Linked DNA regions of Homo sapiens: all the other regions are linked to region 1. Evidence: promoter capture Hi-C in 16 types of primary human blood cells and fetal thymus (Javierre and others, 2016). All regions are on one chromosome and are shown on one strand. Each heading gives the region's core, a stretch centred on a gene start or on the middle of the fragment in contact. The rest is flanking DNA. Distances are from core to core; before and after follow the strand shown.

The links. Contacts are between HindIII fragments. The CHiCAGO score rates a contact against its expected background, and 5 or more counts as called.
Region 2: a contact is called between the fragment with the promoter of BTN2A1 here and the fragment with the promoter of H1-5 in region 1, in 5 of 17 cell types (non-activated CD4 T cells, monocytes, M2 macrophages and 2 more). The highest score is 6.7, in non-activated CD4 T cells.
Region 3: a contact is called between a fragment that was not itself captured here and the fragment with the promoter of H1-5 in region 1, in 5 of 17 cell types (fetal thymus, M0 macrophages, monocytes and 2 more). The highest score is 13.8, in fetal thymus.
Region 4: the fragment with the promoter of HCG11 here is called in contact with the fragment with the promoter of H1-5 in region 1 in 6 of 17 cell types (neutrophils, non-activated CD4 T cells, activated CD4 T cells and 3 more); the score reaches 7.8 in neutrophils.
Region 5: a contact is called between a fragment that was not itself captured here and the fragment with the promoter of H1-5 in region 1, in 2 of 17 cell types (fetal thymus and M0 macrophages). The highest score is 6.4, in fetal thymus.
Region 6: a contact is called between a fragment that was not itself captured here and the fragment with the promoter of H1-5 in region 1, in 2 of 17 cell types (naive CD8 T cells and fetal thymus). The highest score is 6.4, in naive CD8 T cells.
Region 7: a contact is called between a fragment that was not itself captured here and the fragment with the promoter of H1-5 in region 1, in 6 of 17 cell types (M0 macrophages, total B cells, naive B cells and 3 more). The highest score is 7.6, in M0 macrophages.

Annotation. Positions count from the first base shown.
Region 1 is chr6:27,865,761-27,869,428 of GRCh38, reverse strand. It overlaps H1-5 (H1.5 linker histone, cluster member), which reads left to right and starts at 1,841. Exons shown (of 1, transcript NM_005322.3): 1 at 1,841-2,637. The coding sequence starts at 1,900. The coding sequence ends at 2,580. H2AC16 (H2A clustered histone 16) reads right to left here. Exons shown (of 1, transcript NM_003511.3): 1 at 3,631-3,668. RefSeq lists enhancers at 1,582-1,651, 1,912-2,021, 3,592-3,641, 3,573-3,668. The HindIII fragment of the contact is 3,270 bases long and covers 1-2,856 here.
Region 2 is chr6:26,456,272-26,459,939 of GRCh38, reverse strand. BTN2A1 (butyrophilin subfamily 2 member A1) reads right to left here and starts at 1,985. Exons shown (of 8, transcript NM_007049.5): 1 at 1,798-1,985; 2 at 1,222-1,333; 3 at 112-459. The coding sequence starts at 1,303. RefSeq lists enhancers at 1,795-1,954, 2,115-2,374. The HindIII fragment of the contact is 11,033 bases long and covers 1-3,668 here.
Region 3 is chr6:26,472,787-26,476,454 of GRCh38, reverse strand. It overlaps LOC285819 (a long non-coding RNA gene), which reads left to right. Exons shown (of 4, transcript NR_038992.1): 3 at 1-303. It also overlaps a transcript of BTN2A1 not described here. Among named protein-coding and RNA genes, the nearest start is that of BTN2A1, 17 kb to the right of the region's middle. RefSeq lists an enhancer at 2,571-2,620. The HindIII fragment of the contact is 1,320 bases long and covers 963-2,282 here.
Region 4 is chr6:26,520,055-26,523,722 of GRCh38, reverse strand. HCG11 (HLA complex group 11) reads right to left here and starts at 2,017. Exons shown (of 1, transcript NR_026790.1): 1 at 1-2,017. TRL-CAG1-7 (tRNA-Leu (anticodon CAG) 1-7) reads right to left here and starts at 2,515; the gene lies at 2,433-2,515. It overlaps LOC107986583 (a long non-coding RNA gene), which reads left to right. Exons shown (of 4, transcript XR_001744057.3): 1 at 1-2,214. RefSeq lists silencers at 1,562-2,081, 2,312-2,911. The HindIII fragment of the contact is 10,867 bases long and covers 862-3,668 here.
Region 5 is chr6:26,542,891-26,546,558 of GRCh38, reverse strand. HMGN4 (high mobility group nucleosomal binding domain 4) reads right to left here. Exons shown (of 2, transcript NM_006353.3): 2 at 1-1,432. The coding sequence starts at 1,352. The coding sequence ends at 1,080. Among named protein-coding and RNA genes, the nearest start is that of HMGN4, 6.4 kb to the right of the region's middle. The HindIII fragment of the contact is 1,437 bases long and covers 1,202-2,638 here.
Region 6 is chr6:26,565,538-26,569,205 of GRCh38, reverse strand. TRY-GTA1-1 (tRNA-Tyr (anticodon GTA) 1-1) reads right to left here and starts at 348; the gene lies at 258-348. The HindIII fragment of the contact is 6,863 bases long and covers 1-3,668 here.
Region 7 is chr6:26,582,948-26,586,615 of GRCh38, reverse strand. No RefSeq gene overlaps it. Among named protein-coding and RNA genes, the nearest start is that of TRY-GTA3-1, 7.7 kb to the right of the region's middle. The HindIII fragment of the contact is 1,543 bases long and covers 1,005-2,547 here.

The DNA of each region.
Region 1 (3,668 bases), core at 592-3,091:
TCTGTGTCTCTGTGGAGAAATTTATAACACAGCAAAAGGGCTAGGTAATAAATAGCTTAGGGTTTAAAGGCCATATATAGTCTCTGTCACACACTCTTTAGTTTTTAGTTAGTTTGCTTTTTCGAGACAGGATCTTGCTCCATTGCCCTGGCTGGAGTGCAGTGCTGCTATCATTGCTCACTGCAGCCTTGACACCCTGAATTCAAGTGATCCTCCCACCTCAGCCTCCCGAGTAGCTGAGACTACAGGCATGTGCCACCACATCCAGCAAAATGTTTTGTATTTTTATTAAAGATGGGGTTTTACCAAGTTGCCCAAGCTGGTCTCCAACTCCTGAGCTCAAGCAACCCACCTATCCCAGTGTCCCCAAGTGCTGAGATTACAGACATGAACCACCGTGCCCAGCCTTTGTTTTTGTTTTTTTTTTTTTTAACAATACTTTTAAAACATAAAGACACTTCTTAGCTTGAGGGCCATACAGAAAAAAGCCATTGTCCAGATTTGGCCATAGTCTGCCAACTTCTCCAGGAGTTCTTAGAAGATGAAGTGCATTGGCTACTTTAAATTTTCTTGCACAGCATTTCAAGAATGAGAAATAAGTGACTGTTGATTTCATTAGGAATCCAAATCATCATTTGATCATTTTTATCATCCAGGCATCCTGTCCAATCCCCTCCACCTCCCATAAATTGTAAACTTCATTTATTTCAACCTCAGTGTATTTGCCTATGTTTTCCTGAGTTCCTCTGAACCTCTATAATGTGAAGTCGCTCAATATCCAATCCAACCTTTTCACAGTCAATAGCCAGATATTCTTCTAAAATATTAGCGCTAAAACACACAAAAATACCCATATTGATGTATCCTGGCTGCTCATAGAAGAGAGTATTCCTGATGGTGCAGCTTGTTAAATGTGGGTGGAGATTCAGGGGGAGCAGTGAGAACATTTCGAAAACCTGACAGTGTCCTGGGCCACCTAAACAGTTTGTGCATTTGAGGATCACTGGGAGCTCTTGAATAATTTTCCACAAGTTTGAGTTTTCTCTAAACTGAATTATCTATATTATTTTTCTTCCCCTTTTTTAATGGATTTGCCCAGGAACTAAAAAGAGAAAACACTCTAATTAGAAAACATAACACATTTAAGTTTGAATGTGAATCTGAGTAGTTAGATCCTTAAGTCAAAGCGATTTGTATTACTGGTGCTGCAATGCAGAAGAAGTCACTCTGACTGTGGAACTCTTCCAAGCTGCAAAATCCCATTCTGTAAAGACATTAGCACATGGAAACTCCTAGGACACAGAACCAGTTTGTAAAGTCAAGTCTATGTGGTTAAGTTGGGGCTGTAGGCAACCAGCTGTCCTGTGCCTGTGTTACTTGCTACAGTTAGAAACAAACTTCATGCCCAAACCAAGGAACCCAGTGTCTTTTCTCTTGCAAAAATCAAAGCATGAACTCATGGGCAAATTTTTAAAAATAACTTTCACTGGATACTTAGTAGAAATTTATCGCGACACGCTACTAACTAACATGATGCCCTCAGCCCAATGGATTCTTATGAAAAGCTGAAGGGATTTTTTAAAATATCTTTCATCAATTGCACAAGATTCTTGAAAACACAAACAAGTATGTGAACCTGGAGGCTGTTTTCCTCCTTTGGAGCTTCAAAGTGCCAAATTCTGTACCATTGTTTTAAGCATTTAATCAAATTTTGAGGACTAACAAACACAATTTGGGAGTCCAACCGCGAGCGGCGGCGGCCAGAGGGCGGTGGATTGGACGCTCCACCAATCACAGGGCAGCGCCGGCTTATATAAGCCCGGGGCCCGAGCATAGCAGCAACGCAAAACCTGCTCTTTAGATTTCGAGCTTATTCTCTTCTAGCAGTTTCTTGCCACCATGTCGGAAACCGCTCCTGCCGAGACAGCCACCCCAGCGCCGGTGGAGAAATCCCCGGCTAAGAAGAAGGCAACTAAGAAGGCTGCCGGCGCCGGCGCTGCTAAGCGCAAAGCGACGGGGCCCCCAGTCTCAGAGCTGATCACCAAGGCTGTGGCTGCTTCTAAGGAGCGCAATGGCCTTTCTTTGGCAGCCCTTAAGAAGGCCTTAGCGGCCGGTGGCTACGACGTGGAGAAGAATAACAGCCGCATTAAGCTGGGCCTCAAGAGCTTGGTGAGCAAGGGCACCCTGGTGCAGACCAAGGGCACTGGTGCTTCTGGCTCCTTTAAACTCAACAAGAAGGCGGCCTCCGGGGAAGCCAAGCCCAAAGCCAAGAAGGCAGGCGCCGCTAAAGCTAAGAAGCCCGCGGGGGCCACGCCTAAGAAGGCCAAGAAGGCTGCAGGGGCGAAAAAGGCAGTGAAGAAGACTCCGAAGAAGGCGAAGAAGCCCGCGGCGGCTGGCGTCAAAAAGGTGGCGAAGAGCCCTAAGAAGGCCAAGGCCGCTGCCAAACCGAAAAAGGCAACCAAGAGTCCTGCCAAGCCCAAGGCAGTTAAGCCGAAGGCGGCAAAGCCCAAAGCCGCTAAGCCCAAAGCAGCAAAACCTAAAGCTGCAAAGGCCAAGAAGGCGGCTGCCAAAAAGAAGTAGGAAGCTGGCGTGTGAAAACCGCAACAAAGCCCCAAAGGCTCTTTTCAGAGCCACCCAGAGACCTCTAAAAAATGGCTGTGCACAACATGTTAGATCAGGCAGCAAGATTCCTTGCATTCGAAAAATCTCGGGCAGTTCTCCCTCAACCCTAATCGAGTAACGCAAGGCAAGCAAGAGTCCAGGGTGTTGGTTGGACTCCCCACGTAGTTTACCCATGCAGTCTGTTATTAGAGTATGAATTCCAGCCGTTGGTTTTTGTTAAGTTGGTGTCAAGCTTTTTGTCAGACGCCTAGCTACAAAGAAGCTTCTTATATTTTAAAAAGCCCGCTCTATAATCTGATTGGCCAGTTTTTGTTCCATCATCTGTATGTGGTTTTTCCGCGTTTAAGCCATTTAGGCACCAGCTACTTCGGCGTCACTAATGTGTTCGGCATTAATATAATATGCTATCAACGCACAAGACAATATAGTAGCAAGTTTCAAGATGGGGTCTCTATTACATGCCAATTTGATATGACCGTGTCATTCTGTACTGGATTATTTTTTTTTCCTCAAGTCAGGTTCTCGCTGTCACCCAGGCTGGCGTGCAGTGGCGTGGTCTCGGCTCACTACAGCCTCAGCCTCCCCGGCTCAAGGGATCGTCCCACTTCAGCCTCTGTGAAGTGCTAGGACTAAAGGCGTGCACCACCCCGGTCGGCTAATTTTTGTATCCGCTATGATGCCCAGGCAGATCTCGAATTCATGAGCTCCAGCGATCTTCCCGCCTCAGCTTCCAAAAGTGCTGGGATTACAGGCGTGAGCCACTGAGCCTGGCTCTGGATTTTTTTTTATTGGTTCTAGTTCATATAACACGAGATGAATAAACACAGCGAACATTCTTGTAAGCCCTACATTAAATAACTAGTTCACATTCTGACTTAAACATGTCACCTGAATCCTGTAAGGTTTTTCCTAAAAGTCATTCCTAAGCTCTAGATGAAAAATGCTTTATCTTTTCATAACAAACGTTCCAAATGTTTAACCAGTGGCCCAGCTCTCCCGCAGAAATAGTAGGTGGCTCTGAAAAGAGCCGTTGTATTGGAAAGTGA
Region 2 (3,668 bases), core at 736-3,235, 1.4 Mb after region 1:
AAGGGAGTCCAGACAAAAATTTGCTGGTCTGCAATGGGCCTGAGGTTAGGAGAGAAACTTTCCCCAAAGTCACACTGTGCCAAAGTAACAAAGCAAAATGAAGCGACGCACCTGCCACTACGAGGTGCAGGATGGCCTCATCGTAGGACCTGCCTTCTTGGAAGTAACAGCGGTAGGTGCCGTTTTCCTGGGCTGTGATGTTGTGTATGACCAGGGCCACGCTGCCCCTGCTGATGTCTTTGCTCACAAAGGTGGTTCTTCCTCGGTACTCCTCCATCTGCTCCTCTGTTCTCTCTCTGCCACCTTTATACACAAACACTGCGGGGGAGAACTGAGACCGGAACCACCGCACCTCCATGTCCTCAGCATTTTTCTCGGGTGACAGATGGCAGCGTAACGTAGTGTTTTCTCCAACCGTGGCCAAGATGGGATCAGTGGGCCCCACGACAATAAACTGGGCTGTTCAACAAAGGGGTAGAGTCAGACAAAGACACCAGCCATCACATCTCTAAGGCAAGAAAGGAAGCAGATATTCTAGGGACAAACTTATTTTTTCCATGGCCATAGGGTCTCTTTGGGCTGAGAAATCTGGGGACCAGTAGCTGTGGCTAGTCGACAGCACCCCTGGGAGCAGTAACTATAAAGTGTGCTTCTGCTTCATGAAGGAAACCCTGAGGAACCTGCCCTGAGCACCCTCTGTCCACCCTGTGCCCTTGAGGGGATTTTCCTCGATTTCCCAATCTAGTGCTGTGCCTGAGTGTACTGTAAACTTGAGCCGTGCAATAGGACACATATCCACTAGCTAGTTCCAACTGAAATGAGCTGTAAGTGTAAAATACACACAGGATTATGAAGATTTAAAATTTCAAAATGTTGACTATCTCATTGGTAATATGGTATATTAACTAAGTATTTAAATATTCGTATTTGATTATTTGGGGCGAAACAAAATATAGTATACAAATTTATTTCATGTTTCTTTTTACTTTTTAAAATAAAAAGTAAAATTTAATTTTTTTTGAAAATTTGCAATTGTACATGCACTCGGCCTTTGTGCCTCACTGTATTCCTTTTGGACAGTGCTGGTATAAATTCAATGAACATGTTCAGAATGAAAGGGTAAGTCAACAACTCCACAGTCCTTCTTTCTTTCCCTTTGCAGACTACAGGGTTGATGTTCCTTTCTGATAGGTGACAGCAGCAAGTGGCACACATCCCTACCTGAGACCAGTGCACACAGGCTGAGGAGGAGGAGGAGGAGGGAGGCTGGCCGGGAGAAGTGCAGGGCAGCAGCTGATTCCATGAGCACCCAGAGCAGGCAGGGACAGGAGGCCTAGGGTTACAGAGGAGAATCAGCCTAGGAGTCTTGGCACCTCAGTGCTGGTCGGGCCCAACCTCTCCCGTCACTCAAGTAGGTCTCATCAGTGCCCCAACTTCAGGGAGTCCCCTGCATCCGAAGGCTCAGGTATGTCCCGAGAGAGGGATTCCTTAAACATTCCATGAAGTAAGCCATCAATGCCAAGATCAAGGGGGCCTTTTTCCGCCCTCCTCGGCTCACTTCTCTGGCCAGAATGCAGTTTCTTCAGTTGTCGCTGGATTCTACCACACCCTCCTCCCTTCACTTCCTCCTCCCCGCGACCCAGGCCGGGCAGCCTGAGGCAAAGACAGGCGAGGCCGCGCCTCCCCACCGGTGGGCTTTCCCTGTCCCAGGACCCCGTCTCGTGTCCACAGCAGACCCCGCTTCCCCCACCTACTGTGCCCACCCCGGAGCTGTAGCGCCTCCCCTCCGTTTCCTACCTTCTAGAATTAAACGTTGCTTTTTCTTTTCTCCGCTGGTTCTCGACGATTCTCCAGTCGTCCCTCTTCTCTCCAATCTGCCCAGGGGCACAGGCACTACTAGACACAAACCTTCCCAAAAGAGGAGAAAAAATTGTTCTTCCCCTTCTCCTAGGTCGCCATGTTTGGAGATGCAGGAAACGAAATCTGGTCTCCTGGGCTTCCACAGTCCCAAGAGTTCCCTAAGTATTTTAGAGCCCAGGATTGGCCGGGTGTGAGTGAACCAGCCAATGGTGTCGAACCTTATTTCTCAGCAGTTGCTGGGTAGAATACACCGAATCACAAATTTCAAGCAGCAAATAACCTTTTGAGATTATCGGGTCTTTTTATTTCCTTTTTCTTTGTTCGAAAGCAAGACTCTCTCTCTCTCTCTTTCTCTCTCAAGACTCTCTCTCTCTCTCTCGCTTTGAGATTCCTTGGGGAGATTCCCTGGGGTTTGTCACTGAGGTCGGTGGCTTTGCTGGTGTCCACAAGGAGAGGCCTCTCTATGTAGAGGGCAATTTTGCTGGGGAGGAAACATGAGCAGGAAAACGTAAGCCGCCCCCTTTCCAAAGCCAGAGGACTCCTGTTCAAGTTGCTGGCTTTGGAGGTTGGGCCTGGAGCGCAGGAGGGCTTGGGGGAAGCTGGCATGGCTGGAGCGGGAGGGGTAGCAAAGGAAAGGAGACAGCAGTTGCAGTGGCTGTTATGAAGGCCTTGCCATTCATTCCAAAGCTATCGGATAAGAGGTGCTGAGAATCCTGACTGAGGATCAAAAACCTTTTCCCTCAGGGAGGTGGCATTCTGGTGGTGGCAGAAGATGGAATTGAGCAAAACTTTCTAGTTGTCCTTCACCTTCTAGATAGTAGGTGGTCAGGTTGGGTCCAAGAGCCACACACAGACACACACACTAGCACACATACCATCCTCCCGTAAACATCATCCCTCTCCCAAAGGCTCCAATCTTGTAATTGTAAAGATATCTTCCAGAATAATCTTCCCGAGGCCCAGTTGTCAATATTCCCCTCAAGTGTCTAAATGCTTAGTCTGGAGGCCTCCAATTCCCTTCTGATTCAATTCAAAACTTTGCAGTTAATACGCTAGCAATGGCTCCACAGTGGCCTTGCATCACAACGTTGCACTCCCTGTGGCCAGTGCTCCTTTTCCCATGCCATGGCTTTCATTTCAATTGCTTGCTCCATCTCTGCCCCGTGAAATCCTGCCCAGCCTTCGTGCCTACTTCCTCCAAGAACAACTCTGAATGTTCCTGCCTGAAGTGTTCTCGGCCTCTTCTGACACCCAAATCTTTTGCTGTTCCCACGTCCTGTCTTGTATTATTGTTACTCAGGTATCCACTGTGTCTCTGCTGTGACAGGAGTACCTGCTTCTCAGGACAGACTTCTGCAGGATGTGATTCCTCTCACCTTACAGGGCCCAGCTCTAAGCTCTAAGCTCTGCTCTTAGCTGTTGTTCAATGCATGAGTGACATGCTCAGGGTAAGGTCATTCCCACCACATCATGGCCCAGTTCCTGGAGTCATTTGGCACCAGAGTGCGAGAGAGAGGTGCTAGCAGGATTAAGCCACTCTAGGTCAGGATTTCTAGGACTGGAAAGGAGGAACCAGTAGGTTCCTTCTGCAGAGAAAGCTCTTTGATGAGAATAAGCTAAAGAAAGCTCTGAGAACTCTTTTTTCCATTGGACTGACCCTTAAACTGTCTCTTTCTCATACAGTAGTCTCACACGTCACCTGATGTTTCTGGATTATAATTCAAATAAGATTCTGGGTTGAGTGGCTTATGAGGGTAAATACATCAGTATTAGAACTGTATGTATATGAATTCCAAACAGGACTGGGC
Region 3 (3,668 bases), core at 373-2,872, 1.4 Mb after region 1:
CTGAAACCAGCTTGGGCAGCTGGAGAAGAATGAGGGTGAGCAGACATCTGGGCAAGCCGGAGTTTGGGAAAACTGCCATCTTCGACCTTTCTGGAGCAGCAAGATACTGGTGTGAGTCTGTCAGGAGCTTCAGCCTAGCTGATGAATAGACAGGAGAGAGCGATGGGCTCTACAGACCCGCTCAGCAGTTCTTTCCAACTTGGAGTGCTCTGGTCATTTGCATCTGAATCCTGCTGTGTCTTCTCTCCAGTGGAGATTTTCAAACCAGGCTGCCATCAGCACCCACTCACCACCCTAAGTTTGGTAAATGATATATAAAGCTTCAAACTGGCCCTACAACTCAAAAGGAGACATAGGAGAAGGGAGGCGTTCATGGGTTGCATATAAATGAGCACAGTTTGAAATCACTACACTAAAAAAAAATCTTTCAACTATAATAATATGTTATTTACTTTCAGCAATGAGTCAGTCAGGAATTTAGCCCAGGAAATCAACAGAAAAATAGACTCCTCCCTCCCCTGAGATGCTGCCTGCACTGGATTCATGTAAATTTAAATATAAATTTAGATTGATGTTCTTTCACCATCCTCCCCCATTATCCTTCTCTCACTTCAATCATAAATGCTCTTCTGTTTGCATCATAAATTTTTCCCCTCAATCCAGTACATTTTTCTTTTTTCCTTGTATTTATTTTATTTTATTTTAATTTTTTAGAGATGAAGTCTCACTATGTTTCCCAGTCTGATCTTGAACTTTTGGGCTCAAGTGATCCTCCCAACTCAGCCTCTCAAAGTGCTGAAATTACAGGCGTGAGCCACTATGCCCTGCTGATCCTGTACATTTTTTGAGTTCATTGTACCAATAGTTCCTCCATTAGCTTGGTTAAACATTCACAAAACAAAACAAAATGCCCCCAAATGTGACAGCTGAGTCCTTGTAGGAAAAAATCCTTAAGTGAAGCTTAGTATCCTGGGGTTCATTGCATATTCATATATACATACTTGGGGACCCATGCACTAAAAAGACAGACTCCTTTTGTTTACAATAATTCAGCCTTTGCTGTTAAGGTGATTAAGGCAAGTAGGTGTGGGTGGAGAGATAGTGACAAAGGAAGTGAACTAGAGGAATAAAGATCAAAAGATGGGAGGAGGTCACTAGGTCACAGTTAAGCAAGGGCAAGCAGGCAGGAACCAGCCCTGTTGCACTGGTGTACTTGGTCACCTGGGCAGGGTGTTGACGGGCTGTTGTGGGGATGTTGGGGACATCTAGAAAATATGGAGTTGAAAATTTACAATATACATATGAATCTTTAAGGCACATCTCTTTTTAGAACCTTTTGGAATATGTTCCTAAACATAACCAGGAGATATTTTAGGAGTCTTTTCGTCTCCTGGCTGGGGGCAGTGGCTCATGCCTGTAATCACAGCACTTTGGGAGGCCAAGGTGGGTGGATCACTTGAGGTCAGGAGTTCAGTACCAGCCTGGCCGGCCAGCCTGGCCAACATGGTGAAACCCCGTCTCTATTAAAAATACAAAAAATTTGCCAGGTGTGGTGGCGTATGCCTGTATTCCCAGCTACTCCGGAGGCTGAGGCCAGAGAATTGCTTGGCTGGGAAGGTGGATGCTGCAGTGAGCCGAGATTGTGTCACTGCACTCCAGCCTGGGCAACAGTGAGACTCTGACAAAAAAAAAAAAAAGGAGTCTTTGCTCCTTTCTGACTGTAATTAGTTCCTAAGAACATGCAGTTGGAAGGTTTCTCTATTCAGGTTGTCCCTCTTCAGCCAAATCTCAGCCTCTTCAGGTCCTTACTCTTTGCATTCTACCCTCTCCATCCTCACCCCTTTCTCTGTGCCAGTTCCCCTCTCAGCTTTTCAGTCCCTTTTCTTCCAGGCCTTGTAGCCCTGGCTCTAAGCAATTTTCCCCACTTACTCCTTAATATTCCTATCTGAAAATCATAGCCCACAAAAAAAGGTAATCAATAGTTTTCTGTTGTTAATAAAAACTTTAGACAAATTAAATTTAGCAGGGTTTAATTTGAACAAAGAACAATTTGCAAACCATCAGAACGATCGGGCAGCCATCAGAGAGGTTCAGTGAGCTCCATTCCACAAGGGAAGTGACACACAGAAACAGCTTAATTGGTTACAGCTCAGAGTTGGCCTTATTTGAACATAGTCTGATCACTTGGCTGCAGGGTTGACTGCCGCCGACTGAAGTTCGGCTACTGGGATTGGCTGAGACTCAGCTATTTGTTACAAAAGTATACTCCCATGCCTTAAGCTTTCAGTTAGTTTACATACTAAGTTAGGTTGCAGTTCATTATTTAAGGGCTCAAGAGCCATCCCTCAGGCTAAATGTATACATATCTCATACCAAATTTAGTTTAATTTAACACAATTATTTCTGCTTTAGTTAAGATTCTCTGATCCAGAATAAAGGAAAAGAAAGCATGTGCTGTACACTCGGTCCGAGAAACACTAAGAGAATCCTCTTTGTAGGAATTCGTGTTTTGATTGGCTCAGAGGTACCATTTCTCATCAGTTGCTGGGCAGAAGCCACTGGGGACGGTTAGAATGAAAACTGAAACGATATTGAATTGTACACATTGACGAAAAGTTTCAGCCCTACCTCTCAAAGTGTTTGCAGCTCTCTGTGTTTACATATTTGAATCATTAATGTGTGTGTTACGTGTACAATCAGTGTTTCTTCACATTCAGCTGTCTTTTATATCATAACAGAAATATCAGGAGAACTGAGTGGAAAAATGAAAAGATTTTAAGAAGAGAAGATAGGTATTAATTAAAATGATACTGTGGCAGTTTGCAGACATCCCCTTGCATGTAATTGTTACATGGAGGATATTATCATCTTTTGTTTTGGATATTATCATCTTTTACCACAGAGCCAAATGAAAGTATGAACATAATGAAAACTAGATCTATTGCATCTATTTTAGTACCTCCAAAATTCAGGTCTCAGATCCATTACCGAATTATAGAATTTTCTGGTATCCAGAGTTAGTGCTGTCTATAACTGCATATTTTATATTTTTCACAAAATTATTTTGGGTGTGACTGAAGCTTTCTTCACCTCTTGCTCCTTATTTGTGCCATACTGTATTTTCATGTGTATTTGTTTCTCACTCTGACAATGAAATATGTTCTAAGGTTAACCTTTGGGTAGACTGTGGGGGATGTCTTTGTAAGGGGTCCTTGCTACAAACCTTGGGACCTAGTGATAGCAGACAGGAGGCAGTCAGATGCCTAGGCAGGTAGCAATGGGTCCCCAGTGATACCCCACCTCCAAGCTGAAGACAGTTTAAAGCCTGAAAGCCAAACTACAAGGTAAATCCTCAGCCCAAATTGAGAACTTGTTGAGAACTTGTCTTCCTGTTTGGTGCACTTTCCTCTGATTGGTCCCCACCCTTCAACTACTTTCCATATACCCACACTTTCCTAATTGTTTTTTTACACTGTTGTGGCCATCTTTGAGTGGTGTCTTCACTTTAACCTTTTTTGCATACTCACAAACCATTCAGCACACACTTCCCATTCTGAGTCCATAAAACAGGCCTGGACCCAGCCACACAGGGGGAGCTTTCCTGCCTTCAGGTAGGGGTGCCAGCATCCCCTCTCTGCTGAGAGCTGTTCAGTCGCTTGATAAAATTC
Region 4 (3,668 bases), core at 768-3,267, 1.3 Mb after region 1:
AGAAAAATGGTGTCTGAAAATGTCCAAGTATGAACACACTAGCATATTATCTTTTGCAATTTCTTCCCTCCCACCTCCTCTAAACCATTGAGCAAGTATAGACAGTAATATACTGCTCACAAAGGTGGCTTCACAATTCAACTTCCAAAAGTATTTCCTATGAATTTTAGCAAAAAGATATTTACAAATTGGTATTTTACTACCTCTACATTTAATATACATCGGGCACTTCTAAACATCTAGATAGTCTAAATGTTTCAAGTAAGGAGTTAATTTGTCCACTATGTATGTACACAGCAGTCTCGAATAAACTGCAAACATGTAACAACAGTTATAATTTGAAAGAGTCTTCCAAATGTGAACATTCTGGCCTAGAACCCTTCCCATCTCCATCAACCCAGTGGGCAAGAATGCTCAAATTTTCAGAAGACAGTCTTTCCTAGGACTTGTAAAACAAAATGTACAAAATATATTAGTTTACTAACTCTAGTTTTGTTATACACTGGCAACCTCTTTAACATCCAGAAAGACTAGATGTTGTAAATTAGGACTCGTTTGTCCTTTATGTACATTATATACATAGATAAAACAAAATGCACAGACATAGTGATTCATCTTGCCTCGCTGTAAGCAGGATGGCATAGAGCTCTCTGCACCTCCCCCTCCTCTCTCCTCCCCTGAACTACTGCACAAACACAATGAGTATTACTCAACAGGTGATTTGGCCATTCCCCCCAAAAAACAACATTTCTATGAATTGTAACAAAAAGATATTTACAAAATGTGGTTTTACTACCTCTAATTTTAACATATATCAGACACTTCAGAATATCTAAAAAGAATAGACATTTCAAAAAAGCTTAGCATTGTCAACTACATACATAGTAGTGAGGAAGCGAATGCACACAAAACAATGGATAGAATATGAAAATGTCTTCTAAATATGACCAGTCTAGCATAGAACCTTCTTTTTTTCCTTCTCAGGTCTTCGAGCTCCATGTCATCTAACCCACTGAACAAACGTGAACGTATCGCTTCTAGAGGCCGTCTAACAACTCAGTTTCCAAAAGTCAACTCCGGAAGACATGTATTTTCTATGATTTCTTTTAAACAAATGAGAATTTACAAGATGTGTGACTTTCTAACTCTATCATACGTCGGCAACCTCTTTCCATCTAGAAGGGCTAGATGTGACAAATGTTTTCTATTAAAAGGTTGGGGTGGAGTTGAGAGCAGCTTTTTCATATTATATACACAGGCCTTCCGTAAACGGCCTGTGAATCTTCCCAGAGGATGGAGGGCATTTCCAACGGGCCAAACGTGGCCTGTCATTCTACCATTTGTCTCTTCCGACAGCAAGGTCTGGTAGTACGGAGACCAACCGCCCGATCGCCGCTAACCGTTCCACCCGTCGTCGTTCGGGACTTCGCTCACCTCCCAGGCCCGTTAAGGCCTTTGTCCGTTGTCGTTAGGACTAGGTAGGTCTCGCCCAATGGCGACAGAGTGGTCACCCGGGACCCAGATCTGGCGGCTCCGTGGCCTGAAGAGGCGGCCGAGCCTGCCTGCGTCCCTAGGCCGCCTTCCCGGGCCCTCCATGCCCTAACGCCCTCCGCCGCGCGGCGTTCGAGCGGCCGCCATGCTTCCCGGCACGCTACTCCCGCCGCCACCCAAAGGCGCTGCGTCCAGGCTGCTCGGCGGGGGTTTCGTCCAGGCCCGGCAGGCTTGGGCCGGGAGACCCGACGGCCGGCAGGGTCCGGACTGGGAGAGGCCGCCGCCGCCATCAGTCACCGAGGTAGGGTAGGGAAGAGACGTTCGCCACCGCTTCAAGGCCTGGGCCCAGCCAGTGGGCAGCCACAGCAGAGGCCTCCGGTATCTGCAGGGCAGAGGGCGCGGCCTGTCCCGGGGCGCCCCCTAGCTCACCCGCCGACCCGGGGCCGGAGGGCCTGGAGCGCCCTGGAGGAGCGGCCCGCGCTCTGCGTCTCTCCGCGCTCTCTGCCAGACCGGAACTCTTGCAGTGATTTCTTACGGGGAGTAAGGATGAGGTGGGGAATGAGACTGAAGAAATGGAATTAAAAAGATAACTATAACTAAATAAAGAGGAGCCCTGCAGTAATGTAATGAGCCATGAACTGAAGAGTAACATTTATTCAACTCTGCCTGTGAAGGAGGGAGAGGGAAAGACAACTAGAGACAGAGGAGAAACGGAAAAAGGAGGTGAGATTTCAAAACACCGGTAGGTTCTGAAATTATTTTCGGAGTACAGAGTACTTTTTGCTGTCCTTGGAGTGGCTAATAAAAACAAAGAGTGCTTTTATTCCGGAACTCGGAAAATTTATTTTTTAAAAAGAGAGAAGACCATGTCACAAAGAGCAGGTAGGAAAACGTAGCGTAAACTTAAACTCGATTTGTGTCTAAATACTAAAAGTACGAACTGTCAGGAGTGGGATTCGAACCCACGCCTCCAGGGGAGACTGCGACCTGAACGCAGCGCCTTAGACCGCTCGGCCATCCTGACGCGCTTATGCTACATTGTGCTCAGGACTCACTTCTGTCTCTTGTCTAAACGCTATTAGTTCCCCATCCACCAGCCGCCCCCCTACCCCATGTCCCCACCCCCGCCCACCCCCTTGTTGTTCTTTTTCTCAAGATATGGGCATTCCTGGGTTAAAAGGTAAGCCGCCTCTCCGCGAACTGCCTCGGACGGCGCTGCATAGGACCGGTTGTCCGGGCCACAGAGCGGCGTCTCCCGAGTGAACGCCGAGTCACTCCCAGGCTGCGCGGGGAGGGCTGCGGCGGGTGGGGCGGCGGGCGAGGGAGGGCGGGTCGGGGTAGGGGGAGCGGGACGGGGGCGGGGGCGTGGGAGGGGCGGGGCGGGCGTGGGAGGGGCGGGGAGGGGGCGGGGCGGGCGTGAGCCAGCCCAGGGCCGAGTGACTAAGGCGGAAGACGGCGATGGCGCTCTGCTCTCAACTGAATTCTAGTTAAAATAATGGCAATCCTGTTGAACTCAACATTACTAGAATACCTGGCTTAAATTTACACTTAATTCCCAGGAAGTTTTAGGCTTGCTCCAGTTTTTGCTGGAACAAGGTGCTCGCTAATCCTTCTCCTTTGCGTTGTGCTGCAAATCTCCCAGCACGTGGTTACCCTTGGCAGGGCCGGTGGAGGGGACAGGAGCGTGGGAAGCCTGGCTTGTCTTGCCTCTCTGTCGGAGTTTATGGAGGATTTGCGCACTTTTCGGTGTGGATGTTATACTGTAATAAAAACTTTAAAAAGCAAAAGCAAAAACAGCAACAACAAAAATGGGGAGTAGCTTATGTATTTTACTAAACCTGGCGCAGCGGGTACTTGATAGAAGGCCTTGAGCACAACAACTTTTCTAAACATAAACAAAGGTCAGAGGTGACCTACTTCAAATTTTGTTAGCAAGGGTTAGCAGTCAGGATGCCATGGTCGGAATATCACTGACTGGAAGTCAGGGGACCTGAGTACGAATTTCAGACAGAACTAGAACTGGTCACTACCTGGAGAATCTTAGATAAGTCATTTTGCTTCTGTGGACATTAGAAACAGCTTTCTTAGACACCTATAATACTTTCATCGTGAGTTCAATTGATAGAATACAATGTTTAATCCCTTAAATTAAGCATTAAATCCCCATCTCCAGGGAA
Region 5 (3,668 bases), core at 671-3,170, 1.3 Mb after region 1:
GCTACAAGATTAGACAAATTGATGTCAGTCAGAATAGAAACCATCAAAAGACCCACACACATACACAAAAATTTAATTTATGAAAGAGGCAGTGTTACAAATCACTGGGGAAAGGATGAACTTTTCAGTAAATAGTGCAGAGACAACCACTTCGAATATGAAAAATGTTAAGTTGAATTTCTAACTCATAATTTTCACAAAAATCAGTTCAGGACAGACTAAAGACAAATGTGAAAGGCAAAACTATAAAATTTCCACAAGGCAGTAAAGAATATATTTATGACTTTGGGTAGGAAAGGATCTCCCCCCAAACCAATTTGTATTCAGCTTTATATGATACTTTTTAAAAACATTTACTTTCAGCAGGAAATAGGCAACAATCTATAACATTTTACAATTTCCAAACTCCCCTCCTCCAAAAGTCACCGTAAAAGTTAACAAGATATGTCGTTGCTGTTTTGAACAAGAAAGATTTTCAGAGAGGGTGGACACTTCACATGAGGCATGTATGAGCTTTTCTCAGGCCCACTTTGACATGGAGGGACTAAAGTAAAACCAGCAGGATGAATCCACAAACTGAAAACAGGAATCTTGGCTCTTTTAAGTGACACCATCTCGATGTCATCAACAGAAAGCCTGAGTTTTGTTACCTAACACAGCTGATTTTAGGGTTGCCAAGGCCACATCAAAACTCTCGGTTTAAGGAAGTCAAGTCTATGCTGATGGCATCGGGGAAAGGGGAGACACGAAGTTTTGGTTCCCCACACTGTAAGGCTTCCGTGCCAAAGTGGCTGACACGTGAATGTCAGAGAATCTCTCCTGGGAATCAAGGGAATCAAGAACAATCTTCAAAAACCAGGACAGAAAATCCTATTTTCCCTTATTTCAATTCAGTTTCTGAGATACACCCTATTAGTGGTACTTGCCCTTTCCACAAAAGACAACAAGGAAGTGTCCTGTGTGCTAACAACATAACTTAAAAAAGCCAAAATTCTACACTTTTATAAAACTTGATTTAAAAAAATAGTATTTCAAACAGTAGAGTCACTATAAGTACAGAGCTCTCAAAAATGTACATTTCACTTGGCATCCCCAGTGCCTTCCGCTTTCTGGGACTGGAGTGTAGAGGCATCTCGGTTTTTTGCAGGGTTGTTCCCATCCTTTCCAGCATCTGCTTTCCCCTTTCTCCCTTTGGGAAGCTTCTCTCCCTTCTTTGCAGAGGCCTTTTTAGGCCTGGGCTCTGGTTTTGGAGGAGCTGGTTTAGCAGACAACCGAGCTGATCTCCTCTGTGGCTCATCCTTCACCTTTGCTTTATCACCTTTAGCATCTCCTTTTGCCTTTCTCTTGGGCATGGTAGCAGCAGTGTTCGCAGGTGGCTTGAGCAGTCCTGTTGGGTGCTTCTGTCCTCCTCACGCTGTTCCTGGAAAGATGTCTTTAACAAGACACAAAAAGCGTAAACCATAAAGGGAAAGACTGACGAATGTAAACGTTAAAAATCAAATTGACTATATTGTTAATAATTCGTGTATATCAAAAAAGATAGCATAATAAAAGTAAAACAATAAGTACCAGCTTGGCAAAGATATATGTAAAATATATAATGGACAAAATGTTAGAATCCTGAATACATAAAGCATTCCTATAGATCCATGAGGAAAGGACAAAATGAAAATTTTAAAACTATGGCAAAAAATGTTAACAGGTACTTCTTGGAAGCATGAGTGAGGAATAAGCACCTAAAAATATATAAGAAGTACATATTAAAAGCATAGGATATAACATTTCATATCTATCAAACTGAGGAAAACCAAGTTGTCTGACAATATCAAGGGCTCAGCTGATATGGAGCAATCAAAACCCTTATGTACTGCTGTGTGTGTGTGCCAATTAGTGTATTTGCTTTTGGAAACAGTGGTTATTTGTAAAGCACTCTGCAAACAGTGGTATTGTGTAAAGCAATTTTACTTCTAGGTGTTTACTTAGAGGGATTCTTGGAGGTGTGGACAGGAGATCTCCACAAGAATGTTTCTAGCAACACTGTAATTTCAAAAACCTGTAAATCACCCAAATGTCCTTCAATAGTAGAAGGGATGCATATATTTTGGTAGTATGTATAAAAGGGAATACCATTCAGCAGCAGAAACAAATAGATTACAGGTAGGTTCAAAAACGAGGATGAATCTCAAGAATATAATGCCGAAGAAAAATAGCAAGTTGCAGAAGAATATGTACACTATAGATCCATTTACACATGTAAAACTATGACATGTTGAGGCCACAAACATATAGTAAAACTTAAAAAAAAAGGGATAAATAAAAATTGGACAGTGGTCATCTCTTGGGAGTTGGGAAAGGGATGTAGTTGGAGAAGGCATGGAGGTTAGTCCAGAGATGGGGGAGGTTGCATTCTCTTCTTTAAACTGTAGGGGAAGCACATGGCTGGAGTATTACCTATGTCTTACACAGAAAAATTGTATGTGTCTGCTCAAGAATTAATAAAAGTACTAAAAAATGTGGGTAGCCCAGAGCACAGATTGAGAGCCACACAGGTAGGAAATGGAAAATAGTTTGAGTTTGAGTAATTAGGACTTAGGCCTAGGGCTGGCATTCATGGGCACTGTGTGACTTTTTTAAAGCTTTTGTCTATCATACCTTCTGCCCCACCCTTGAAAACATTTACTGGGAAATTCTGTAACCTTGTGAGTGGCCACCATTCTACAATGTTATTATTATTTTTTTAATCTTGTCTCCAAATTGCTCCAGTTTTTTTTTTTTTTTTTTTTTTTTTTTGAGATAGAGTCTCAGAGTCTCGTTCTGTCACCCAGGCTGGAGTGCAGTGGTGCGATCTCGGCTCACTGCAACCTCTGCCTCCCGGGTTCAAGCAATTCTCCTGCCTCAGCCTCCTGGGTAGCTGGGATTACAGGCGCACGCCACCATACCCAGCCAATTTTTGTATTTTTACTAGAGACAGGGTTTCACCGTGTTGGCCAGGCTAGTCTCGAACTCCTGACATCAGGTGATCCACCTGAGAATTGCTTGAACCTGGGAGGCGGAGGTTGCAGTGAGCCGAGATTGTGCCACTGCACTCCAGCCTGGGGGACAGAGTGAGACTCTGCTTCAAAAAAAAAAAAAAAAAAGGTAATGGTGCCACTGAGACATACAGTTCTACTGATCTAACTACACCTGACCTGCTCTCTTCTGAAGAAATCCTTGCCTAGACATTACATGAATTTATTGCTAATTTTTGTCTTTTTCCCTTTATTTCAAATGCAACATTAAGGAATCATTTTAACAATTTTTAGGAAACAAAAGGAGTTACTCTTACAATGAAGGAACCAGTGAAAATCACTTGGTCTAATGGTAGGGTGACTTGATTTATACCTGTTGCCCTAGTATAATTATTCATAATGTTCCCTTTTACTTTGAAAGGTGACCTAACTTGGGCAATGAATAATAAGGTTACCCCAAATATTCTGCATATATTTTTAGAGGCCTTTATGTTATCAGAGAATGAGAGTGTTTAACCAAAAAGTGAGATTTTGGCCTAGCACACATTTCCCTAAGAATAGATACTCCATACCATTCTCCTTCCATCTCACTCCAAAATTGTTTCTCAGCCCATTTCCTGGTGTGAGAATGCTCACACAGTCTCTTTTCCTGGGTTCAGT
Region 6 (3,668 bases), core at 849-3,348, 1.3 Mb after region 1:
CTCTAGCCCAGTGGACCAGTGTCTGATTCACTTCCTCAGTGCCCAGGGCTTCTAAGAGGGTTGGATTATACGAATTATAGGGATGAAGTCTTGATGGCGCGTGTTAAAAATTGTTACGGAGAATAATAAAAAATTAAAGAGATTCACTGCACATCCAGAATAGTTTTAAATAGATTCTTATCGAGGATATGTATAAGTGAAATACGCATTTCTGAGAATGAATTTTAAAACTTACGCAAAAAAAAAAAATTGTGAACTCCTTCGAGCCGGATTCGAACCAGCGACCTAAGGATGTCTAAGGACACAGCCAACTACAGTCCTCCGCTCTACCAACTGAGCTATCGAAGGATTCACACGACTTTCACTTCCCGCTGGGGATGCCATCTCTGCGGAAGGTTGGGCAATCGTGGATGCTTGTCGTCCTGTTTACCTGCGTCGTTGATGTTCTTTTGACATCCACTACCCCTTCGGAACTGACTGATATTCAGAGGCCCTTTTCTCTGAAACAGGGAGAAAACGGGAGCACCACCCTCACTAGTTTACAAAAAGAAACATAAAATGTTAAGGAGGCACAAGGAACTGATAAGAATTTAGCAATGACCATCTTTTGTTGTGATGAATGCATTATATAACCAATTTTAACCTCTACCTAAAAATAGAATTTGAAACACTTTAACAATGCAATTTTAATGGGATTTTATTGAGATAACTGACAGGAGGAAGAGAAGGAAGAGCAGGCTAAATAATGCAACTTCGAAAGCATAATAATTTTTTTTTTTTTTTTGAGACAGAGTCTCGCTCTGTCGCCTGGGCTGGAGTGCAGTGGCGCGATATCGGCTCACTGCAACCTCCGCTTCCCAGGTTCGAGCGATTCTCCCGTTCTCCCGCCTCAGCCTTCGAGCAGCTGGGATTACAAACGCAAGCCACCACGCCCGCCTAATTTTTATATTTTTAGTAGAGTTGTGATTTTTGCCATGTTGGCCAGGCTGGTCTCGAACTCTTGGCCTCAAGTGATCCGCCCGTTTTGGCCTTCTAAAGCCCTAGGATCATAGGCGTGAGCCCACAGCAGCTGGCCATCACATTAATTCTTAACTCAGCAAAAACCTATCCATGGGTGTGCTAAAATGATACATTTTTAAATGATTAACACAAGGTAATATCATTTCAAATATTAGTTTTGCAAAGTGTAAGATTCTTGTCTAGCTTTCTATGACTCTGAAGCTCAGAATAGCTATTATCCTCCCTTGTTAATGAAAAAATCCACTTGTGGTGGAATCTGGCATCCGAAATCTGTTTCATTATGGCCCGGCGCGGTGACTTACCTCTGTAATCCCAGGACTTCAGCAGGCCGAGACGGGGAGATCACCTGAGGTCAGGAGTTCGAGACCAACCTGGCCAAAATGGTGACACCCCTGTCTCTGTTAAAACTACAAGAATCAGCCGGGCGTGGTGGTGGTGGGCGCCTGTAATCCCAGCTACTCGGGAGGCCGAGGCAGGAGAATCACTGCAACCTAGGAGGCAGAGGTTGCAGTGAGCAGATATGTTGCCACCGCACTCCAGCCACTCCACAGAGCAAGACTCCGTCTCAAAAAAAAAAAAAAAAAAAAAAAAAAGAAAAGAGAAAAAAAAATCTGTTTCATTCTTTTTCATGTTCCATTAAAGATAATTACCTTGTCATATAATGAAACATGCACAGGGCAAATGATCCTTCTTGTGCAAGTAGGCCATTGAGCCCAATGTTCACTCCTTTATGGCACACAGATTTTTTTTTTCTTTTCTGAACAAAAATTGAAAGTACATTTAACTTGGCCATTAATCTCCTCAAGTCCATGAAACATTTATTTGAGTGGGGCGAGTCTCGATGAATTAAATGTAATGTTTTATCTCCTCTCCAACCTCAATTGCCTGAATAAGTTATCCTATTTCACAGATGTATTTACTTTTATACATTTGGTCAAAATACACTTTTCAAACGGTTAAATGCATGATTCATATACGAATATGAAATAAACACTTGTCAAAGGTTTAATTCACTAATGAGGGAATCATCAAGATGGTAAAACTGGTAAAACTGGATCGAAGAATTTATTGATAGTCACTGAAAGAAGCAATGCTGTAAATTAACATTGCTAAGTGAGGTAGAGAACTGGAAACTGCCTTACAGGACAATAAAACTGTACTGTTTCTACAGGACGGAAAATAACTAAATATCAGACGAAGTTCATTTGCATCACCACATCACGACGTTCCCTTACAAAGCTGAAAAACTACCCTAATCAATAAATAGTAAACTAGGCCGGGCTTGGTGGCTCAGGCCTGTAATCTCAGCAGTTTGGGAGCCTGAGGCAGCTAAGTCTCTTGAGACCAGGAGTTCGAGATCAGCCATGGCCAACATGGTGAAACCCTGTTTCTACAAAAAATACAAAAATTAGCGGGTCGTAGTGGTCGGGGGCCTGTAGTCCCAGCTACTGGGACTGGCTGAGGAGGGAGGATCCCATGAGCCAAAGAGTGTGAGGCCACAGTGAGCTATGATTGTGTCACGTCACTGCACTGCAGCCTGAGCGACAGAGCCAGACCCTGTCTCAAAAATAAATAGTAAGCCAAAACAATGGTACATACTCGTGGAGCAGTAATTTCTCTAATGGAGCAATTTTGCCTTCACAACGGTCATCTGACAATGTAAGAAGACATTTTTAATTGTTGTGACTGAGGAATATAGTAGGTAAATTGTTGTGACTGAGGAATGTAGTAGGTAAAGAACAGGAATGCTAGTAAACATCCTGTAATGCATAGAACAGCCCCCACAACAAAGAATTATAATATCTAGTCCAAAATGTCAATAGCGCTCTATTGAAACTCTGCTCTAGAGAATGAAAATAAGATAATCCTGGGCCTGCAGTTTTCTAATTGGCTCCCCTTGTCCAGATTGGTCCCCTCGGTTCTGTTCTCCACACAAAATGCCAGCAAGTTCTCACTGAGAGGTGTCTGAGGTCCATAAGATTGGCACCATTAAAAGAAGTTCCCCCCGGGCGCGGTGGCTCACGCCTGTAATCCCAGCACTTTGGGAGGCCGAGGCGGGCGGATCACGAGGTCAGGAGATCGAGACCATCCCGGCTAACATGGTGAAACCCCGTCTCTACTAAAAATACAGCCGGGCATGGTGGCGGGCGCCTGTAGTCCTAGCTACTCGGGAGGCTGAGACAGGAAAATGGCGCGAACCTGGGAGGCGGGGCTTGCAGTGAGCCGAGATCGCGCCGCTGCACTCCAGCCTGGGCGACGGAGCGAGACTCCGTCTCAAAAAAAATAAATAAAAATAAGTAAATAAATAAATAAAATTTTAAAATGCAGCCCATGTGGCAAACTAACATGCAGTTAATTCGCAGATTTGATTTCCATTCATTCATTCGGTAAAGGTTTACTGCGTACCTGCTGCGAGCTGATGGAAGAGGCCCTGGGTTCTTTGCGAGCGCGTGGTCCCTTGAGTCCCTTGAGGGTGAGGAAATCGCACCACCGACCTCCACGTGTAGGGGAGGACGTGGTGCAGCAGCGCCAGATAACGCCGGAAGAACCCCAAGTGGAGGCTGCTTGGGTCCCTCGGGAGTGAGTGAAGAACCAATTTCTGTGGCATGTGTTTCAACAGTAACTGTACTGTAATGCTTCCTAAAAAG
Region 7 (3,668 bases), core at 527-3,026, 1.3 Mb after region 1:
CTAAGATTTAGGGGAACTAAAAGAACTGTTTGTTCTTTTACCCATAATAATTATGTTCTAACGTATTATACAACAATACGTTTGTTTTCACCATATTTTGTCTCCAATGCTTTTGTTCTGATGTTTTCATATTATGTACAATATTTTTTATTGCACTAAGTTTCAGATTTGGGAAACTTGCCTAGCTGCTTTTATGAAAATCAACATAGAAACTACTGCAATCCTTCATCAATGGAGGGACCACCATGGTTCAGAGATGCTAGACTTCCAACTGGCCCATGTTCTAATGGACCTTTGTGTTGTCTCCCATAGGGAAAAGCTAAATGTATTTGGCTTTTAGGAAGGAGAGCAGCCAGAATAATTGGTGGCCCTATGGTGCTCTGTGATGGTCATATGGTCATTCTGATCCACAGTCTTCTAGTAACGTAGCATGTGCAGATTGTAGTTCTTACTTCCTCAGAAATAGATGTGGACATATGACACATTTGTTCTGGAAAATGAGGTGTCCCTTCCAGATGTTTGAGAGTCAGTGAGCAATCTATCGGGTCCCTTTTTACCTTACCTTGACAAAATAATTGATTATTTTGATTGTAGAGGATCTACAAATCAGGGTTTATTAGTGAAATAGAGACCACCAACCAAATCATGATAGATTTTTATGACACAGAAATAGGAGTTTATGGTTATAAGCCAGTATGATTTGGCGTGGGGGAGAGGAATTACTTATTATTGCAGCATAAGCTAATGTATCCAGATGGATACATCCAGGAAATTCAGAAGTATGAATTCATTAAGAAGACCAGATTCCTTTCTAGGTAAATATCCAACAAAATTGTGTGAACTTGAGCACTAAGAGGTATGCTAAAAGTGTTCATAGAAAACAGGTTTTTAAATATACATATATATTTTAATATATTAATATCAACATATCCCAAGAAAAAGCTTAGTGAAGTATTGCCAGTGGTCTACGTACAGCCTAATATCACTTTATATTATGATAAGCTTAGGAAAATGTCTAAAGTTTCTTTGGTTCTTTGTGGTAGAATTCTAGAACATTTAAATGTATTGAGCTAAAAGTAGTAAAAATCTCAAAATTAGAATGAACACAGATCTAAGATTGGGATTTTAAAATACTATGGCAGTTTTTCAAGCCTGGAAAGTTCAGTCATTAGGATTACAGCAAAAATAATTATTAGACACAAGAGGCATTTCACCTGCTCTGTCTCTTGGCCCCATATGCAGCCATAGTGACTGTCCTTTTTCTCCTTTTCTCCCTTGCCACAGCACCCACAATTCAGATTGCTTTCCTTTTTCCCTCATAACTTCTACCAACCATTTGCTTCTTTGGGGACAGATCTTCCCTAAGACAAATAGAAAATTGTAGCATGAATCATAAAATCTTAGCCTCTTAAATCCTTGCTGCACCTGAAAATTACCATGCGAGATCATTTCTTAATGTTGAGTTTTATGCCTAATTATTATTAGTAAATAGACTGAGCATCACATTCAATGGAAAGTTACATGACTATCTTATATATGCATGCTGTATCTGGTCTAAAGTTTCTATTTTCATGGCTAAAATAGCTACAAGGAACCTGATCATTGTCTTATCTTCTACTTTTATTCCCAATGGCAGGTAGGGCTTCCTAATACTCCTAACTCCTTCTAATCCAGCAGTAGTTCTTCAACATCAGTGTTCCTTTTGTACAACACTGGTTTCAGTTCTAGGAACATCTCAGGCTCTCTAAGATATCTGAGCCTTTTTTAAACTGTTTATTCTCCCAGGAATGACCTGGAAAATGTATTGACCACTGACCAACTTTTATTTTATTATTATTATTACTATTATTATTACTTTGTGTGTGTACGTGAGATGGAGTTTCGCTCTTTTGCCCAGGCTGGAGTGAAGTGGTGTGATCTTGGCTCACTGCAACCTCCACCTCGCGGGTTCAAGTGATTCTCCTGCCTCAGCCTCCCTAGTAGCTGGGATTACAGGCATGTGCTACCACGCCCGACTAATTTTTGTATTTTTAGTAGAGACGGGGTTTCAGCATGTTGGCTAGGCTAGTCTTGAACTCCTGACCTCAAGTGATCCACCTGCCTCAGAAACTGCTAAGATTACAGGCATGAGCCACGGCACCTGGCCACTGACCAACTTTGAAGACCAAGGATCAAGGATCAACTCCACATTGAAGATGTTGGAGCCTCACCATATTACCTCTGGCATCCCACCAAGAAGCCCCCCCCATATCCCCCTGACCTTCACCATGTCAATGTCCACCAGGCTGATTTCTACCTGCCGGTACTTGCATCTTATCGCATGAGAGCTTTCCCCACCTGCTGATCACACTTTGCCCACATTCATGGCAGGCCAGATGTTCCACTGAATTGGAGGTTTAGAATAGCTCCCAAGCAATTTTTGGTAAATGGTGTATGACTATCCCAGCTCCCTTACCCTTGAAGTTTGATCATTTTTAGGCATATTTTCAACATTGTTTCCCAGAGTTCCTCCTCTGAGGATTAAGAGGGGTTAAGAAGGATTAAGCTTGAATAGCCCAGAGTGGTATTCCTTGGTTTCTTTTCTTTTCTTTTTCACTTTGTTTTTTCCACACCAGTGTTTTCTGGATTAAACCACTTGCCCCTAAATCCTTGAATAAACCACCCCACCCCACCCCACCCCAGAAAAAAAACAGTAGGTTTTTGAAAGGTCATCCAATATGCTGTGGAAGAATAGGTAAGTAGTCAGGGGCAGAAGCAGGAAGGCAAGATTGATTCAGGCGAAAATTACGATGTCTCCAAAAGGAGTTGTGGCAGTAAGAGTGGTGAGATGCTGTAAGATCATGGATATGTAGTGAAGATAGAAGCAACAGAATCACCCAATAAATTGATGCGGAATGCGACACAAAGAAGAATCAGGCTGACTCCCAGGTATCTGACCAGAGAACTGTGAAGGATGGAATGGAGTGAGGGTGACTGTGGGTGCGACAGATTTGGGAGGGAATGAGATAAGGAGTCCAGTTTTGATGATTATTAGCTTCTAAGTGGAGATGATGAGTAGGTAGGAATACTGCAGTAGGATCAGTCTGCAGTTTGCGGGAGAGTCTGGGCTGGAGATATAATAATGTGAATTATCTGCACAGAAACAGGTTTAAGTTCATGACTCTGGATGAGACTCTGAAAGAATTGGGTGTAAATAGATAACAGAAGAGGACTAAGAACTAAAGCCTGGGGAGAAAAACAATATTAAGGAGTCAGGGAGAAGAGGAAGAACCAGTAAAGAAGACTAGGAAGAAGCTATCAATGAGGAATGAGTAACTCAAAGAGAGTGTGATGCCCCAGAAGCCAAATGAAGAAAATATACCAAGAAGAATTGAGCAGCCCAATCTAATGCTGCTACTGATGAACCATGTAAGAAAAGGCAGATAATTTATTATTAGATTAGCAACAGTGAGGTCTATGGGAACTTTGAAAAGAGCCGTTTATGTAGAGATGAAAGACAAATTGGAGTAGGTTTAACACAGAGGACAGGCTGGATGCAGTGGCTCAAGCCTGTAATCCCAGCACTTCGGGAGGCCAAGTCAGGAGGTTCGCTTGAGACCAGGAGTTGGAGACCAGCCTCGGCAACGTGGAGAGACCCCATCTCTACAAAAATTAGCCACAGGTGTGGT